Regions from separate parts of the Homo sapiens genome. Here region 1 is linked to region 2. The links are contacts of gene promoters, found by promoter capture Hi-C in human tissues and cell types (Jung and others, 2019). All regions are on one chromosome and are shown on one strand. Each heading gives the region's core, a stretch centred on a gene start or on the middle of the fragment in contact. The rest is flanking DNA. Distances are from core to core; before and after follow the strand shown.

Evidence for each region. Contacts are between HindIII fragments. The study calls those that stand out against the background at their distance.
Region 1: a fragment that was not itself captured here is called in contact with the fragment with the promoter of SOCS6 in region 2 in 1 of the 25 tissues and cell types used here (IMR-90 fibroblasts).

What each region holds. Positions count from the first base shown.
Region 1 is chr18:70,154,903-70,159,070 of GRCh38, reverse strand. The region is part of intron 14 of RTTN (rotatin); the gene reads left to right. Among named protein-coding and RNA genes, the nearest start is that of RTTN, 49 kb to the left of the region's middle. The HindIII fragment of the contact is 9,830 bases long and covers 1-4,168 here.
Region 2 is chr18:70,287,328-70,291,555 of GRCh38, reverse strand. SOCS6 (suppressor of cytokine signaling 6) reads right to left here and starts at 2,511. Exons shown (of 2, transcript NM_004232.4): 1 at 2,466-2,511. RefSeq lists a silencer at 1,776-2,675. The HindIII fragment of the contact is 14,867 bases long and covers 1-4,228 here.

The sequences.
Region 1 (4,168 bases), core at 852-3,351, 130 kb after region 2:
AGTTTAGGTCCCAACTATTTTTGTTAGTTTTCTGCCTCAGTGATTTGTCTAACACTGTCAGTGGGGTGTTGAAGTCTCCCACTATTATTTTGTGGTTGTCTAAAACTCTGTAGGTCTCTAAGAACTTGTTTTATGACTGGGTGCTCCAATGCTGGGTGCATTATATTTAGGATAGTTAAATCTTCTTGTTGAATTGAACCCTTTATCATTATGTAATGCCTTTCTTTATCCTTTTGATCATTGTTGGTTTAAAGTCTGTTTTGTCTGAAATAAGAAGAGCAACTCCTGCTCTTTTTTTGTTTTCTGTTTGCTGGATAGATCTTTATCTCCATTCTATTACTTTGAGCATGTGGGTGTCACTGCATGTGAGTTGGGTCTCTTGACAGCATATAGTTGGGTCTTGGTTCTTTATCCAGCTTGCCACTCTGTGCTTTTTAAGTGGGGTGTTTAGCCCGTTTATGTTCAAGGTCAGTATTGATATGTGAGGATTTGATTCTGTCGCCATGTTGCTAGCTGGTTGTTACGTAGACTTGATTGTATAGTTGCATCATAGTGTCAGTGGGAGATGTATTTTAGTGTGTTTTTGTGGAGGCAGGTAATGGTCTTTTGCTTCCTTTTTTAGCACTCCATTGAGGACCCCTTGTAAGTCAGGTCTCATGGTAATGAATTCCCTGAGCGTTTGCTTCTCTGAAAATAATTTTGTTTTTCCTTTGCTTATGAAGCTTAGCTTGGCTGGATATGAAATACTTGGTTTGAATTTCTTTAAGCATGCTGATTATAGGTCCCCAATCTTTTCTGGCTTGTAAGGTTTCTGCTGAAAGGTCTGCTGTTAGCCTGATGGAGTTCTTTTTATATGTGACCTGCTCTTTCTTTCTAGCTTCCTTTTAAGATTTTTTCTTTCCTGTTGACCTTGGAGAATCTGATGACTATGTGTCTTGGGGGTGGTCATCTTGAATAGTATCTCACTGGGGTTCTCTGAGTTTCCTGAATTTGCTTATTGACCTGCCTAGTGAGGTTGGAGAAATTTTCGTGGAAAATATCCACAAATATGCCTTCCAAGTTGCTTGCTCTCTCTCCTTCTCTTTCTGGAATGCTGATGGGTGTTAGGTTCGTTTTGTTTACATAATCCCATATTTCTTGAAGTTTTTTTTTTTAATTCTTTTTTCTTTATTTCTGTTTGCCTGTGATGATTCAAAGGAGTAGTCTTTGAGCTCTGAGATTTTTTTCCTCAGTTATGTTATTAATGCTTCCAATTGCATTATGAAATTCCTATCATGAAATTTTTGTTTCCAGAAGTTCAGTTTTGTTCTTACTTAAAATGTTTGTGTCAGATCCAATCATGGATCAAACCACCATTTTACTGGTTTCCATGGGTGGGGCTTCAGCCTTCTTCTATATCTTGTCGAGCTTCCTTGCCTTCCAGCTTCTGAATTCTGTCATTTTAGCCATTTCAGTTTGGTTAAGAACGATTGCTGGGGAGCTAGTGTGGTTATTTGAAAATAAGAAGACATTCTGGCTTTTAGAATTGCCAGAATTCTTACACTGTTTTTTTCTTACCTGTGTGGGCAGATGTTCCTTTAATCTTTGAAGTTGCTGTACTTTGGATGGGGCCTTTTGCTTTTATATTATTTGATGCCATTGAGGATTTTACTGTGGTATAAGTTGGGATTAGTCAATTGGCTTGGTTTCTGTGTGCTTTCAGGGCCAGAGCTCAGCTCAGCACCCCTGGGCTGTGTGCTCTAACCCTGGGGGTGCACTGAACAGGCCAGTGGCTTTGATTTCTGGTCCCTTGAGGTCAAGCATCTGCTGCACTGGAGGAGCCGAGATGTTCCCAGACTGCTGGCAACAACTTTCCGATGGTGACTGCCCGAGAAAGTGCTCTGGGGGGGCGTGGGGCGGTGCTTTGGGAGAGTGCACTTGTGGTGGGGGTAACCATGGGCAAGTGCGCACTGGCAGGGGAGGCTGCAGGCAAGTGCACACCAGTAGGTATTGGCTGTGGGTGGGTGTGTGCTTGCAAAAGCGCTCTGACAGGAAGGCAGAGGCTGTTGGCAAAAGACCTATGGGGTGGCTGTTGGGGAGCATTTCGGCAGGGCAGCTGAGGCTGTGTTGCAAGCTAGTGAGACAGACAGGACCCTTTGAGAGGCTGGCAGACAGGGTGGCATTCAGATCAGGTTGGCCCAGTCTTGTGGGAAAGATAGCCCTGCTCTTTCTACTTCTGGCAGCGAACTAAGGCTAAAGCCACCTAGAGGAGTATATCAAGATTTGGGTGATGGGCACCTATCAGGGAACCTGCCCCAATAGTCACGTAGTTTCTTTTCTGTTTTCCCTAAGTGTCGGCTGGGTTGGGAAATAAAGGGACAGAGTACAAAAGAGGGAAATTTTAAAGCTGGGCGTCCGGGGGAGACATCACATGTCGGTGGGTTCCGTGATGTCCCACAAGCTGCAAAACCAGCAAGTTTTTATTAGGGACTTTCAAAAGGGGAGGGAGTGTACAAATAGGGTGTGGGTCACAAAAATCACGTGCTTCACAAGGTAATAGAATATCACAAGGCAAATGGAGGCAGGGCGAGATCATAGGACCGCAGGACCGCAGGCAAAATTAAAATTGCTAATGAAGTTTTGGGCACCATTGTCATTGATAACATCTTATCAGTAGACAGGGTTTGAGAGCAACCGGTCTGACCAAAATTTATTAGATGGGAATTTCCTCTTCCTAGTAAGCCTGGGAGCGCTATGGGAGACTGGGGCTTATTTCACCCCTACAGTCTCGACCATAGAAGACGGCCACACCCAAGGGGGCCATTTTAGAGACCCACCTTCAAGGGCACATTCTCTTTCTCAGGGATGTTCCTTGCTGAGAAAAAGAATTCAGTGATATTTCTCCCATTAGCTTTTGAAAGAAGAGAAATATGGCTCTGTTCCACCCGGCTCACCGGCAGTCAGAGTTTAAGGTGATCTCTCTTGTTCCCTGAACGTTGCTGTTATTCTGTTCTTTTTTCAAGGATCCCAGATTTCATATTGTTCAAACACACATGCTCTACAATTTGTGCAGTTAACGCAATCATCACAGGGTCCTGAGGCGACATACATCCTCCTCAGCTTACGAGATGACAGGATTAAGAGATTAAAGTAAAGACAGGCATAGGAAATCACAAGCGTATTTATTGGGGAAGTGATAAGTGTCCATGAAATCTTCACAATTTATGTTTAGAGATTGCAGTAAAGACAGGCATAAGAAATTATAAAAGTATTAATTTGGAGAACTAATAAATGTCCATGAAATCTTCACAATCCACATTCTTCTCCCATGGCTTCAGCCGGTCCCTCCGTTCGGGGTCCCTGACTTCCCGCAACAGGCACCTATGGCCATGCCCCATTGCAGCCATTACTGCGCCAGACCCTCTGGGCTCTGTGCAGACTGGCATTCTGTCTCTGGCAACTCATTGGGCAGTTCTCCCTTGCAACTCAAAGGTCTGTGCAGGTCATGGGGTCTCCCATAGTTAGGATCCTAGAGGATCGTTGCAAGAGTGGGCTGCTCCATGCCTGTTGCACTTGCCACTTCCCTAAGAGCTGCTCAAGGCCAGGAACAAGTCCTCTAGTTTCTTCTTTTGTGTTGTTGTGAATTTTAAACATATTTATTTTATAATCTTGTTTAGATTATGGTATTAGAATCCTCCCACTTGTTATGGCTATTGAATCTTCCTTATGTTGTTTATTTTAGCAGATACTGTTATTTTGATTTTCAGGTCTTCTTTGGCAGGGTAGCTTTTTCTTGTGATCTTGTATTCTCTAGATGGTGGTTGTATATTTGTTTCTGCCTTGCCTTTAGGGATTTGACAGTTAGTGGTGATGCACCTTGGAAGGGGTTTGTAATGAAGTTACATTTTCATTTGTGTATGTTGAAATAATAAAAAGAATCAGAGGAGGAAAGATTGAAGATAGTGGGTAGCAAGTAGCTAATTAAAAGAAGCTAGTGCCTTTGAAAGTTGAAGGCGGTGGGACCTTGAACATGATGGCTAATTGGGGTTAGGTGGGCTTAGATATCACAGGAAGTTGCAGGAGCCTCCTTCTATTGAGTCTGTATTTTCTTTGAGATTGAAAGTGAGATGTTGAATGTGTGAAATGACTAATATGAGTAGATATTTGATAATATCAAATAGTAGCATTT
Region 2 (4,228 bases), core at 1,262-3,761:
TTTGGACTTTTAAATAAGATCACACCTCTATGAGCAAAATAAAAGATATGATCAATAACCCAAAAGTTTCCTGAAAACTGGCCATAATGGAGAAAACTAGCAAGATTTTTCTCTAAGGAGTGTAGTTACACAAGAAGGCTTAAGAGGACACTTGCAGGCTGGGTGTGGTGGTTCGTGCCTGTAATCCCAGGGCTTTGGGAGGCTGAGGTGAGAGGATCTTGAGGCCTAGAGTTTGAGACCAGCCTCGGCAACACAGCAAGACCCCACCTCTCCAAAAAACAATCAGCCAGGTGTGGTGGCACATGTCTGTGGTCCAAGCTACTCAGGAGGCTGAGGGAGGTGGATCACTTGAGCCCAGGAGTTCAAGGCTGCAGTGAGCCATGATTGCACCACTGCACTCCACCCTGGGTGACAGAGGAAAAACAAAAAAGAAGATACTTGCTTTCTGTTTCCTAAAAAAAGGGGGGCCATTAAAAGAACACCTTTTCCAGTTCTAATGCAAGAATGAAGAAAAACACTGGAAGGCAAAATGACTAGAAACCCAGTCAGTACAGCACCATTTTCCACCCTACGCCCAGTCAATGGCTCTCAAATTCCTTCCCTGCCACTCCCTGCGGGGTGGGGGGCCCACCAAGAGAGGGGGTCATGGGATGACCCGAGGGTGTGCGCTTGGGTGGGAGGCCCTGCTGAAGAGAAAGGGGCAAGACTACCAATTTAGAGGGTAATTTAGAAGATAACGATAAAGGTAAGAGAGAAACAGTGTTTCAAAAGAGATGCTGAATGGAGTTCTAAAAAAGTATAGATTCGGGTGAATACCTGGCTGACCCTTACCCAGGCACAAGCGGAAAGCCCTGGCCAAACTCCAGATAGAAGTTCTTCTAGGAATCCTTATCAAATCCACTGTCCACGAACCAGGTTCCTCCAAGGCACCAAGGCAGGCTTAGGGAGGGTGTTTGAACCAAAGGGTTAAGGCCACATATTTAATTTAGAGCTGAATGGATCCTAGACCTTACCATATCCACGCGTGCACAAAACCCACTAGGAGGAGAAATTAGAAAGCCCACGGAAAAGTATTACAGACTTTTTTTCCGGTTTTTGTGAAACCTGGTGAGCAATGCCATTCGTGTTTTTAAGTAAGGCTGTCCACAGCATTAAATATTACAATTAAGATTCGTTCATTCAAGTAAGCTAAATGGATTTAATGTTGTGGTAGTTGGTTAAAAACAAGTCAAGATAAATTGCTACCTTCAGTGGTTGAGAAGATGTCAGATATTTTATCTTGAAGTAGAACGTTTACTTTTGTTTGATTCCAAATGTATCTTTATCCCAAGGAACACAGTAAATTTAAAATGTCTCTGGGAGACGTTCAGTGTGTAATTCACGTTATTTCTGTCATTACTGTGTTCTCTGTCCTCATGCACAGTGCATGCTGCCTTATCCGGGCAGACGTTGCAGAAACATTTGTTGAAATGAATTCAACATTATTTATTTTGCTACCGGAAGACTGAGTCCCGCCACATATTCCCACCTGGCCCTTCATTCCAAACAGTGGGGATGGGAACCCCAATTTCACATTCCAACTGAACGTTAAGTTGGCACACACACTACTGCACATATCCCAAGTTTTGTGCCAGGATCTGCCCCTGAGAAACGTCCATAATTCTGCTCCGTGAGCCACAAGGGTGTACCTGAAGTTGCCAACTCCCGAAGCAAACTGAAAATTCAGGCCCGTGTCGGTCCCAGGAGCGGTTTAAATTCCACAATCGTCCGGTCCCTACACCCGGGTGAGTGCGCAGCCGGCCGGCGGCACCTTCAGCCGCAGAGCAGCCCCGGCCTGCACCTCCACCAGCGCCGGCGCGACCTCGCGGTGGGGCGGGGGCGTCCCCGAGTCCCAGCGCCGCGCCCCAGGCCCGCCCTCGCGCCTGCGGCCTCGCCGCGCCCCGACCCCGAGCCCGAGCCCGAGCCCGCGGAGGTCCGAGGAGGGACCCGGCCGGGGCGCAGAGCCGCGCAGGCCCCGCGCCGCTGCCCAGGCCTCGCGGAGCCCCGGCCTCTCCCCGGCGAGCTGCGGGCAACAAAGGCGGCGGCCCAGGCCGGCGCGCCGCGGCCGAAGAGGCCGAGGGGTCGAGAAGAGCCGTCCGCGGCCGCGCAGGCCTCGGCCCTTCAGGGGCCGCCGCGCCCCGGCCCCGGCTTCCCGGTTTCCGCGTCCCCGCTCCCGGGACTGGCCCCGGCCCCCGTTCCCCGGCCCTGGCCCCCGCCCGCGCACCCGCCGAGACGGCGCAGGGCCTCGCGCTGACCCAGACCCGTCGCTGCAGCCCCGCGCCCGGCGGCCTCCCTGGCCCGGCCCGCGCCGGATCCGCCCCCTGCACTCCGAGGCGAAAACCAGCCGTGTCCCGGACCGCGGGCGACCCGGAGGCGGACGGCGAAGCCCTGCCCCTGCCTCCCGCCCGAGCTCCCCGGACGCTTACCCGGAGGCGGCCCGGCTCCGCTTCCTCGCCCAGCGCCGGCGCGACTGCCGCGCTCGCCTTCTCCTCTCGGCAACTCCTCCTCCCGCCTCCTTCCTCCTCCTCCTCCAGGAGGGGCGCGCGGCCGCGGCGCCTCGGCCCGAGCGGGGAGCGGGTGCGGAGGAGCCGAGCGGGCCGCCCCCCGTCCACTACTCGGGCCCGCGGCGCAGGCGGGGCGTCGGGGCGCGCGGGGCTGAGGCCGGGGGCCGCGCGGGGCGGGGCGGGGGCCGGGCACTAAGTGGGGGTTCCGAGGGGAGGGGCGCCGGGCCGGGGTCGTGGGGCGGACGGAGCGCGGAGCCCTGATCCCTTCCCCCACCCCCGCGCCCCTCCGCTGGTGCCTGCAGGAGGCCGCTCCTCCGGCCCCCAGAGTCCCTGTCCTGGTTTTTCCTTTGGTGCTTTCCCTCTGGCGGGGGTGGCCCCGGCTAACGCGGAAAGGAAAGTCTCCTCGTTCCCCGGCCCCGCGGATTTGGCGGCTGCGGTCCCTGTCCCCCTGTGGCGGGCGGTCGGACCCCCGCACTGCCCAGGTCCGCTGGGCTCGCGCGGGGACCCCGGCCTCGTCCCCGCAGGGAGGGGACCCCAGGACAGACGCGCGCGCACGCTGTGCAGAGCCACAAGTGGGGAAACCCTCCCCACACCTCGACTAAATTGTGAAAAATGCTTTTTAAAAAACCAAACATTCCTTGTTTCAAGCCATCCACTTTTCCATTTAGTCGTTTTCAGGGAGGTTTTGTACAAGGAATAGTTGTTTGTGCCGCCGAATTCCAAGGTAGTGTGGTATACAAGTTGCATGTTGGGATCTTGACTAATTTCTTTGGAAACTGGCTGAACATACTACTAATGTATAGCAGTACCACAAAAACTTGATTTTTGTGCATAAGAATCAATAGGAAAATTTGTATTTCTCTTACGATGAAAAGTGGTTAAAAAAATGAATATCATTAGTATTTCAGTAAAGCTTGGGGGGAGATAAATATTAAAATCTAATGAGAATTATTGTGGACTTTAAAAGTTGTGTTTCTTGAATAGTATGGACCTTTTTAAAAGAAAACCGAAAGGACAGAGAAAAAAGGGCTAGAAAAAAAGTCTAAAAAGCTGTTCAGGTATGAGTTGGTACCCGAATTATATCTCAATAAAGTTGTTAGTTACAAAAAAGTTCAAGTCCAGTAATCTTAATTCCTATGTCCAATATACAATCTGGATTTCCCCAAGAAATCTAGATTCATAACAGAAAAGTTGGATCTTTAGGTGATGCAAAGTTGATGTCATGTATCATACACTATCATTGTCATCTTCAGTTTTTACTTGAATTTATTAATAAAATACTACCATTATTGTTACCGTGATTGAAATGCAACACAATTCTCAAATATCTAATTACAGTGATTGGAGAATGTAGGTTGAAATAGAATTGTCAGAGAAGTTAGTGGGAAACACAACAAACAGTAATTAACGGTGGCTCATGCCTGTAATCCCAGCACTTTGGGAGGCCGAGGCGGGCGGATCACAAGATCAGGAGATCGAGACCTGCCTGGCCAACACAGTGAAACCCCATCTCTACTAAAAATACAAAAAGTAGCTGGGCGTGGTGGCAGCTGCCTGTAATCCCAGCTACTCAGGAGGCTGAGGCAGGAGAATCGTTTGAACCCGGGAGGCGGAGGTTGCAGTAAGCCGAGATCGCACCACTGCACTCCAGCCTGGGTGACAGAGCTAGATGCCGTCTCAAAAAA